Linked DNA regions of Homo sapiens: region 2 is linked to region 1. The links are contacts of gene promoters, found by promoter capture Hi-C in blood cells and fetal thymus (Javierre and others, 2016). All regions are on one chromosome and are shown on one strand. The core of a region is centred on a gene start or on the middle of the fragment in contact, and the rest is flanking DNA. Distances in the headings are between cores, read along the strand shown. Region 1 holds the start of CRIP2 (cysteine rich protein 2). Region 2 holds the start of PLD4 (phospholipase D family member 4).

Evidence for each region. The method cuts DNA at HindIII sites, captures the fragments that hold promoters and counts their contacts. A CHiCAGO score of 5 or more calls a contact.
Region 2: the fragment with the promoter of PLD4 here is called in contact with the fragment with the promoter of CRIP2 in region 1 in 1 of 17 cell types (monocytes); the score reaches 5.1 in monocytes.

What each region holds. Positions count from the first base shown.
Region 1 is chr14:105,472,254-105,477,418 of GRCh38, reverse strand. It overlaps CRIP2 (cysteine rich protein 2), which reads right to left and starts at 2,598. Exons shown (of 8, transcript NM_001312.4): 1 at 2,514-2,598. The coding sequence starts at 2,556. RefSeq lists silencers at 2,576-2,685, 2,866-2,935, 3,206-3,355, 3,446-3,535, 3,546-3,595 and an enhancer at 3,624-4,156. The HindIII fragment of the contact is 47,861 bases long and covers 1-5,165 here.
Region 2 is chr14:104,921,681-104,926,827 of GRCh38, reverse strand. It overlaps PLD4 (phospholipase D family member 4), which reads right to left and starts at 1,949. Exons shown (of 11, transcript NM_138790.5): 1 at 1,838-1,949. RefSeq lists enhancers at 1,115-1,624, 1,607-1,776, 4,171-4,220. The HindIII fragment of the contact is 16,221 bases long and covers 1-5,147 here.

The DNA of each region.
Region 1 (5,165 bases), core at 1,349-3,848:
GGGTCCTCCAGGCGGGACCCTCATCTGTCTGTGGATTCCTCGTCCTAAACCCTGAGCTCTCCCCCCGCCGTAATGCCCCTGGCTGCCACTGGCATGGAAGATCTGAGGGCAGCTGCTGAGGGTCCGGGACCCTCTGCCACTGCCTCCCACCCCCACACTGGGGCTACTGGACTGCTTCCCAGTGGATGGAAGCAGGGGCCTCCCTAGGGAGCCAGGCAGGAAGAGGTGGGGAGGGGCAGGAAGGGCCCAGCAGAGCCGGAATTCTGAAGGGAAGGGGACAAGCTGCAGGCCCTGGGGGGAGGGAGCATGCAGGCTGGGCCCACCCTGCCCGGCAGAATCTGGCCAAGCCCCTCAGGTGGCCGAGGACCAGTGGCTCTCCCAGCTCCCTTTCTCAGCAAGTGGCCCAGCCCCCTTTGTCTGGCAGATATCGGGGAGGGGCATCTGGCTAGGGCGAAGCCCACTCTGAGAGGCCCAAGGGTGCTGCTCCTGGCAGTGAGATGGGATCCCCCAGGTGGCCTACTAGGTAGAGGGCTGTGAATACTGGCTCTCCGTGGCCCTGGTACAACCCTCTGGGCATGGCCAGGGCCAGCCTCCAGGACACCAGCCCAACCACAAGGCTGCACCAGCTTAGAGCCCTCTGACCAGAACCACTCCACTCAAGGAAGCTGGGACACACCAGGGCAGGCAGGGGCTGGCTGCACGGTGGGCAGGCGTGTCCCAGCAGCAGCAAGGAAGTCTCGGTGGCTATCGGCCGTGGCAGCTGCAGCCCAGGGCTGCCAGCACTGTGCTCTGGCCAGCTCTGGGACGTGGGCCAAGTGGGGGCAGGGAACTGGCCCTCAGACCCACTGGGTGGGTCAATGGCCACACATTACGGGTCCGAGTTGGGAACACAGAATCGATTGGGTCTAATGGCTCAGAAGAAAACCAGCTGCCCACCCTGGCTGCATGGGCTCTGGGGTGGCCTCCTCAATGTGCTCCGACATCCCAGCCTGGGTTCTACTCAGGTATGAGCTGCGGGGGCAGCCTGGTGTGAGGGTGGGCAGGATTCTGGACCCTCGCCCTCACAGTGCCTCCCAGGCAGGACAGAAGCCAGCCGGGTCTGAAGCGCCTTTGTTTTCCGCTGAGAGGCTGGGCGGGCCAGGCAGGCAGGCCTTTCCGGGCTGTCCACAGGACTGTTGGCCGAGACCCTGGAGAGCCCCAGGCTGGCCTGGCCCGGCCTGGGGTAAAGTCATGGGCAGTTGGACTGCAGAAGGGCCCTGGGGACCGTCTCCCACCCTAAGCCTTACAGAGACAGCCCTCGCTGGGACAGAGACTGAGGGCTGAGCGGGCTCCAGGAGAGGCAGCCGGAAGCCCCTCGGCTCCCAGCCACGCCAGAAGCACTCCAGGCCAAATCCGGTCCCTCCCCTCTGGGACGGGCAAAATACAACCTCCCCTCAACCCCCTCCAGCCTGTGAGCCGGGGAAGCCCAGTGGCGGCCTTCCCTGCAGCCTGGCCGCATTCTGGGTATGGGGCGACCAGGGCAGGCGCCCTGTTGGTCCCGGCCCTCCTCTCTGCTTCACTAAGTCTGCCCCCCTTCGTGCAGCAGCTGGTGGGTAGGTGGGCAGGGACCTTACCACCCTGGAGAAAGCTGGGCAGCGAATCAGCCAGGAGGAAGGGGGTAGGAAGGGCGCACCCAGGCCCAGAGAGTGAGTAAGCCCAGACGGGGGGAGCGCGCCTGCCGGAGGGGCTAGACCGAGGGCCGCCTTGCGAGACATCCCTCTTCCCGCCACCACCTGCATCCTGTCCAGGGCTGTTCTGACCTTGAGGAGGCAGGGATCCTGGACACCTGGGCTGCTTGAGCACAAGGTCCCTCTCACGTTCGCGGGAACTCGCGTGTCACACCCGCCCCCACCCTACCCCCGTGTGAAACTCCTGGGGGAACTGGCGCCAAGGGAATGCGTCGGGACAAGCAGGAGGCAGAGGCCAAGGTCGCCCCCGCTTGGACTGAATCCCGACAGAGTCCAAACCTGGCCCAGCCCAGCTCAGCGGAGCCCGGAGTGGGAGCTGGGGGTCACTGTTCCCGGCCACTTGTTCCCGGGGGAAGCGGGTGTAGGGGGTCCAGGAGAAAGGGCCCAGGCCCACGGGAGCGCGCGGGACGCACCCGGGGCGTACAGCCACGCCCTGCCCCGCCCCGCCCGGCGCCGTCCGAGGAACCGGGATGCGTCCGCGGATCCCCGAGCGCTCCCCCAAACACTGGCCTCATCCCGGGGCACCACAAGCCCCGCCCGGGTGGTCCCTGCCCCGCCCCCACAAGCCGCTTCGGGGTTCGGGCGTGACCGCCCCCGCTTTCGCGCAGCCCCACCCTTTGGCTTTAGCCGCTTGGGCAGCGCGGCCAGCCAGCCTCCGGGACGCGCATCCTCGGTCCGGGGCCGGGGCCGGGCGCACCCCGAGTTACGCCGCGGCTCTGCGGCGCGGGACTGGCCGCGAAGGGCGGCGGGATGCACCGAGCGGGCCGGGAGCGGGCACGCACTCACCGAAGTACACGGTCTTGTCGCACTTGGGGCATTTGGAGGCCATGGTCGGTGCGCCCGGTCGGCCCGCGCCCTCCGCCCGTTCTCCTCCGGGCCGCCGCCGCCCGCGCCCAGCCCCGCCTGCCCGGCTGTCCGCGCGCCCATTGGCTCCGCGGCCGGGGCGGGGCCTCGATAACCCGTCCCCCGGGCTGGGGGCCGCCTGGGGGCGCCGCGGGGGCGGGGCGCACCTGCCGGGGGTGGCGGGTGCGGGGCAGCCGGGCCAGGCCTGGCGCCCCCGGGCCCCTCGCGCCGGAGGTGGCGTCTACAGGGGCCCGCCCGGGCGACCGCGGCGCCGCCCGCGCCCCGGCTGTTTCCATGGCGACGTCGGGGCCGCCTGGCCGGGCCGTCCCCGGGGCGGCGGGCAGGGTGCGGGGAGCCTGGCCCTCGGCTCTCGGGGAGCCCTAGTGACTTGGGCCTAGGGGTCCAACACTCCCGGCCCTGGGCGCCCAGGCTGCGCTCCGCCGCGGGAAGGGGTCGCAGGCTCCGGGAGAACCCCACCCCCACCCCGCCGCGCGCGGCGCCTGTCCCGCTTCCCTTTGTTGCTCGGTTTCCATAGCAACAGCCGCGCCGCGGGAGCGGAGTCAGATTCCCGGCGGGCACGGCCCCCAGCCCTGTCCGGGTCTCCATGTCCCGCTCCGCCCCCGCCCGCGCCCCGCCCCAACACTGTCTGTGGTGCTGAAGGCTCCTTGGGTGGAGGGCAGGGCTCAGGAAGGAAGGCGCCGCCACCTCCAGAAACAGCTCGAGAAGCTGCTGGTAGGGGGTGTGGGGAGGTCTGCGTCTGCCTCCCAGGCAGGGAAGGGGCGGCGGGCACCAGCGCCGAGGGATCCGCGCTTAAGGCGTCCACCCCAAGCACTTCCACCCAGGGGGCGGCCGGGGAGGCGGTGAGGAGTTAGGAAGGGAAGGAGGGGAAGGAGTGGGCGTGCCCTCTGTGCCCCGGGCTGGGGCTGACACTCCAGTCCCTTCTCCCGCACCGCCCAGGACCAGCTGCGTGCCTGGGGGCCCAGGGCCTGACCTCGAGGGGTCAGGCGGGAGATTGAGGGGTCATGCCAGTCACCGCACCCCCACACCCCCACTCTGGCCTCCTCCCAACCAGGGCGTGCCTGACCACGCCTCACCACAGTGCCTCCGCCCTAGAGCCCCGTAGAGCCTGGCCCCAGGTGGGGAACCTCCGCACCCACGGGCTTCCTGGTGCTCTGTCCCCATGGGCCCTTCTCTGAGCCTTCTGGCCCCAGCTGAGCGTCGGCCTGGGAGACAGGCAGATCCCAGAAGCCCAGTGATCAGGCCCTATGGGGGCAGCTGACTCTGGACACCCTTCCCCCTGTGTCTTGGAGGCTGTGGGCTGGACACGGAGACCTACCTGTTCCCTCTGCCTGGTGCACCAGGCATGTTTGTGAGCCAACCAGAGGCCCTCGGTGCTCCTGGCTTTCATGGTGGTCCTGGCTGGGCTCTCTGTGGCAGCACCCTCCTCCCTTGCACACACACCCTGCAGCCACTGCCATTTCCATGGTGACAGCAGGCCAGAAACATGCCCCCCGCCCCCCCGCCCGACTGACCAGCCTGACCAGCTCCCCCTCTGCACTTGGGACCTGTGCCAGCCAAGGCAGAAGATGGTGAGGAGGCATCAGTCAGTACCTTTTCTGGGCAGCCCTTCCTCCCTGGCAGGCCCAGGGGTCCCTAGGGGTCCCTCACAGCAGGGCCTTGCCCAGGCTGGATTCATGGGCCCACTGCCAAACCCTCTCCAGCTCCCTGCCCTGTTCTGCCCAGCTTGGGAGCCTGGGGCTAAGCCATTACCCTCCCTGACTTTGCTACCTGTGGGGCTTGCTACCTGTGGGGCTTGCTCTGGAGGACAGGGCTGGCTGAACACAGGGCTCTTCTGGAGGGAGACCACCTGCCCCAAGGTCCCCAGCCCTGCCAGAAGAGTGGATGGGGGTAGAGGCAGGCCCCTCCCAGGGTGGCAGCAAAGGAATGGCATTCGGCACTGGCCAGGTGCCCTGGAGACACACGGAGGGTGGGGTGGGACAAGGAGTGTGCCAGCTGCTGCACTGCCCTCACCCCAGCCGCAGTCCCTGGGCAGCGGCCAGAAGCTCCCTAATGCGACGGGGCTATTCTGGGCCTGGCAGGCAGGGGTCAGGATCAATGGGTGCAGAGCAGTGGCCTTGGTCTCCACCTCTGAGGCTGCGGTGGGTCACAGGCAGGGGCAGTGACACAGTGGGACGGGCCCGAGTGGAGAGGGGGGCACAGGACACGGCGGGTGTGAAGGGAGCTGGCAGGGCTGATGGCTGGGCATGGGGCTGGGTCACACCCCTGGGCTGCAGTGGTCTGGTCCCTTCCGCCATCCTGTGACACTGGCAGATAGCAGGCCCCTGCTACTCAGCTCCACTGCAGGGAAGCCAGGCTGGGCTGAGTGGTGGACAGAGGACCCTAGCAGGGTGGAGCGGAGCTGGCAGGACAGGTCTCCAGGCATGACAGCATGATGGCCTTGCCACCCTGAGATGCCCCTGGCCCTGGGGAGCCGCGGCCCCTGTGGGGTTGCTGGTGCAGAAAGCAGGCTGCTGTCTCATCAGCAGGGAAGGGCCTAACGAGGACATAGCAAAGCTGGGAGACCCCTTCATGGCC
Region 2 (5,147 bases), core at 700-3,199, 550 kb after region 1:
TGTGCCTAGCCACATGCCCCGGCTTTCTGTGTCTCCCCTTTCAGGGTCTCCCACTCAGTGAGTATCTAGGTATTTGCATCTCAGTTCCCTGTTTCAACCACAACTGAAACTGCGTCTGAAAGGGCTGTTTCTGCTTTTGTCGCTTGGTCCTCTTATTGCTGGCCTATAAATAACTGCTTCCCTCCTGGGCTGGGCTCCTGTCTTGGCCCCACGGCAGCCCCTCCAGAGAGCCACAGGTCAGAGGGGGCAGCTGAGCAGTACCCTTGCTGGAGAGGCTAGGCGTGGAGAGGGCAGAGATGGCGGCAGAGTGGGACCCCTACTGCTGGCAGAGGGGGTTGTCCTCTGCTGCAGGGACTCGCCTTATCTCCTCAGAGTGGTCACCCCACAAGGAGCTGGGAGCCAGGCCATCTGGGCCCTGTGGGATGTGGGCTCCCATCCCCACTCCTACCCCCAAAGCAAGCAGTCAGGCTGCCCCAGGTGCCACCATGGGGGAAGGGTGCCTCACAAGTACAGAGGCGCCCTCCCCGGGTGCAGGGAGGGGTCTGTGCCCAGCATGGTCACCTGGCTGGCCAGCCTCTGACTGAGACATCCACCAGGGCAGGAGCTGGCTGGCCCCTGGCTGGGATGGGGATGTCTCCGAGGTTTGGGGCCTGGGCCTGGGCAGTGCTGAGTGCCAGTGTCTGCAGCCAGGCTGGGCGCTGGGACCCAGGGCTCGGTGGGTCGGCTGTCCACCCAGGAGCAGCCAGCTCAGCCTCCAGGCCTCTGGGGTTCGTCTGGGCTGTCCTCCCACGGGTCAGGGCTGAGGGCTTTGAGAACCTGGCCTGCCTCAGCATGGGGCGGAAATGCCAGGAACACCACAGGAGTCGGGCCTGGACTGAGTCTGCCCTGGAGACCAAGCGTTATGGGGGATTGGGGGTAGGAGCATAAACCAAGTGTGGGGACAGGGGACTCAGGCCAAGTCACTGCGGCCCAACTCCCCCCACGCTGGGGGGTCCTGCAGAGGTGGGTGGGTGCCGCCCCCACCCCAGAGCTGAACTCTGGGGGATGCTCCCCCCACCCCACAGAGGAGACCTCAGGGTGCCCACCGTGTCCCCACTGTCCCCAGGGATTCAGGGCCCAGCATCGGGCCTTTGCTCTCCCCCACTAACTCTCAGAAGAGGAAACATGGAATCCTGGGCTGTGGCTGGTCAATGAGAGGAAACATGGAATCCTGGGCTGTGGCTGGGCAACGAGGTGCCAGGGCTGTTCTTGGACAGCTGCTCCCCACACTCCCTGCCCTCACCAGAGAGGACCTTTGCTCCCTTAAATGCTCCAGGCAGACGGGCAGCTCAGAGCACAGAGGCGCTGCCTCTTGCAGGCCCCATCTCAGACTTGGAGCCTGTCCAAGTCCCCTCCCAGGACTACAGACCCCAGAGCGCCTCACCACCTCCTCCTGCAATGGAACCTGGGAGGACCGCCAGCCAGGTTGGCTCAAGCTGAGAGACCCCTGCAGAGTAGGGCTGTAGCCCCCTGGTCCCATGGTAGATAGCGTAAGACCCTGCAGACATCAGAGGTCATGGCTGAAGGTGCCAGATTTCCTGCCCTGCAGGGCATTAGGCATGGCTGCCAGTCCCAGGCTGAGGTAGAGGGCCCAGCTGTCACCTGGCTGGAGAGCCAGGGCCCAGCTTATCCCAGCTGCACGGACTGGGGACGGAGCGAGTCATCTACAGGACTAGCTGGAGGCTGTGTGACTCTCTGGACCTGGGGTTGCTGGGAGGCTGAGGCCATAGGGAGGCAGACAGCAGCCCTTTCCCCATGCCTGGCTTTTCTCAGCTGCCCTGGCCTCATTGGCACATACCTCTGGGGGTCCTGCCTTGGTGTCTATCCTGATTCCAGCCGCAGACTGCAGGCCCTCAGCTCACGGGGCAGGCTCGGTGCTGCCTGTGCTCCACACCAACCTCCTCTTCTCTGCAGCTCACCTCCTCCTCTCTGCAGCTGGCTCCTTCCCCTTCCAGCTACTTCCTCTTTGTCCTGAGAGGCCCCCTCTCATCTGAGACAGAAACAGACGGCTGGAGCTGGGTGGGCGGGCTAGAGGGTAGGGCTGAGAACCTTCACCTCCAGGAAAAATCTACACCCCACTCCCTCGAGGTAGAGGCCCTCCAGTTGCGGGCCTACGAATCGGAGTCAAGTTCAGCTGCAGGCCACAGACACCTAAGGAACAGTGGCTTCAGCAAGGTTGTTCATTACTCTCGAACACTAAGCAGGTCCAGGGGCTGGCAGGCTAGAGACGGCCTTGCTAGAGATGATGGCATTGCTCCACTGCCATTGGGAGCCAGGCTCTCAGATCCCAGTCCCTAGGATCCCTGCCTTCATGGCCTCACAGTGGCTGCTGGAACTCAGCCATTGCCTCTGTGTTCTTAGCAGAGAATAAGGGACATCCCAGAGGAGACTTCCTGGAAGTCCCACAGGGCACTTCCACTTATCTGTGATCTGGAACTTGATCTAGAACTTAGTCACATGGCTACACTTAGCTGCAAGGGAGGCTGAGCAATGGAGGTAACTAGGGTCTTTATCTTGGAGAACGAAGCTGGGGCTGCTCACTGGCATATCTGAAAAGGTGGGCCTGGCTAGAAGCTCCTAGCAAGGGGCTCTGCCTCCCACTGCCCCACCCCCCGACTGGGGTCCCTGAGTAAGGTCTGGGACCTTGAGAACACTCCTACTTTCAATGAGGTCTGGGTGTCCACCCTGGCTCCTCCTTGTAAGGCCTATGTAGGGCAGGGGTCCAGGGTGATGGCCTCAGGGTGCCTGCAGGACACCAGTCAGGAGGGTGCAGTTCCCAAGGGTGGGGCCTGTCAGCTGCACCCCTGGGGCCAGTCTGGGTGGGCCAGGAAGTGAATGGGGAAGAGATCCATCCTCTCCCTAGCCCCTCCCAGATCTCTCTTCACCTTCCTGATGCTCTGATTTGGCCTTGGGTTCAGCCCTTACCTCCCGGCCATGGTTGGGGAGCCCCAGCCCTCTGGCTGGGTTGCTGGATGCCTGAATGCAGCTGGGCCCCAGGCATGCCCCCGAGGGTTGGGTCCTCCAGGGACTCTGGGTGAGGGTTACTCTGGGTATGGGGAGGGGCAGCCAGGTGGGTCCTGCTGTGACATTTGCAGGGCTGGGGCATGAGTATGAAGGGAGGCTGCCTTCCCTGCACTCAAGCAAAAGGCAGTTAGACAGAACAGGTTCTCTTCTGTCTTTTTTTTTTTCTTTTTCCTTTGAGAGAAGTCTCGCTCTTGTACCCCAGGTTTGAGTGCAACGGCTTTATCTCGGCTCACTGCAACTTCTGCCTCCCGAGTTCATACGATTCTCCTGCCTCTGTCTCCCAAGTAGCTGGGATTAAGGCACGTGCCACCACGCCCGGCTAATTTTTGTATTTTTTATTAGAGACGGGGTTTCACCATGTTGGCCAGGCTGGTCTCGAACTCCTGAACTCAGATGATCCACCCGCCTCGGCCTCCCAAAGTGCTGGGATTACAGGCGTGAACCACAGCGCCCAGTCTCTTCTGTCTGGACAACAATGGTGTGTGAGGGCCTGGAAGGCCAGGGGCAAGTGGAGGACCCCAGGGCTCCTTGGAGCACTCTCAGAAGTCCTTGCAGGAGGGCCAGCCCCAGCCAGTCCCCTCTCCGATTTCCCCACATTGTGAGGGGCCTCAATGAGCCCACATGCTACACCCAGCCCGTGGGTCTGAGCTCATTGCAGCCCCAGAAAAGCACCACGTCACCTCCCCTGGCTGCCCCTCAGGCCAGCAGGACTGGGTACAGCTCAGGCAGCTCTACCTCGGGAGGATGGATCCAGGCTTGGGGATGTTTAAGCAAGGAATCCTGGGCCTTGGGCTCAGGGTTCGGTGGACTGTCCTCTTGGCCTCTCAGGCTGCTTACCCTGGAAGAAAGATTGAGGCTGGAAGGGGCGTCTAGATTCGGGACCCAGGGCAGGCCTCTCAGTGGCTCCGAGGCTGGCTGTGTGGCCAGGAACGACCTGAGGGCAGCTCCTTGCCGGCTCTGCTCCCTGCGCTGCAGGCCCCACCCTGAGGTCTAGGGCCCTTTGGTCCCATGGGGTGTGGGGAGGGACTTTGGGGATTTCCCATGAAGCAAAACTTTTTTTTTTTTTGAGATGGAGTCTTGCTCTGTCGCCCAGGCTGGAGTGTAGTGGCGCCATCTCGGCTCACTGCAAGCTCCGCCTCCCAGGTTCAGGCCATTCTCCTGCCTCAGCCTCCAGAGTAGCTGGGACTACAGGCGCCCGCCACCATGCCCAGCTAATTTTTTGTATTTTTAGTAGAGACGGGGTTTCACCGTGTTAGCCAGGATGGTCTCAATCTCCTGACCTCGTGATCCACCCGCCTCAGGCTCCCAAAGTGCTGAGATTACAGGCATGAGCCACCGTGCCCAGCTAGTGCATATGTGTTTCTAGTTATTATATCTTCCTTATGGATCACCCTCTTATCATTATAACACATCCTTCTTTGTCTCTAACAATAATTTTTGTCTTAATATCTATATTTTCTGATATTAGTATAGGAACTCCACCTCTCTTTGAGTTGCTGTTTGAATGTTATATCTTTTCCTGTCATTTTACTTTTTTTTTTTTTGGACGGAGTCTCGCTCTGTCGCCCAGGCTGGAGTGCAGTGGTGTGATCTTGGCTCACTGCAAGCTCTGCCTCCCAGGTTCACGCCATTCTCCTGCCTCAGCCTCCCGAGTAGCTGGGACTACAGGTGCCCGCCACCACGCCCAGCTAATTTTTTGTATTTTTAGTAGAGACGGGGTTTCACCGTGTTAGCCAGGATGGTCTCAATCTCCTGACCTCGTGATCTGCCTGCCTCGGCCTCCCAAAGTGCTGGGATTACAGGTGTGAGCCACCGTGCCCAGCCTGAACATTTTTTCTTTAATTTCCTTTGTTATTTCAAAAATTAACTTTGTGGGAAAATATGACTCATTATTTGTCAGCAGAGCTAAGTTTTTTGTTTTTTTTTTTTTTGTTTTTTTTTGTTTTTTACCCCAAATAAGTACAGACTGTCAGAGCAGGCTTGTGGGAGCACTTAAACCCCACCGTAAGCACATCAGACACACCTCACCTCATGGTGGAGCTATGTCCTGATAAGCCCATCATAAATGGAAGCTGAAAATATTC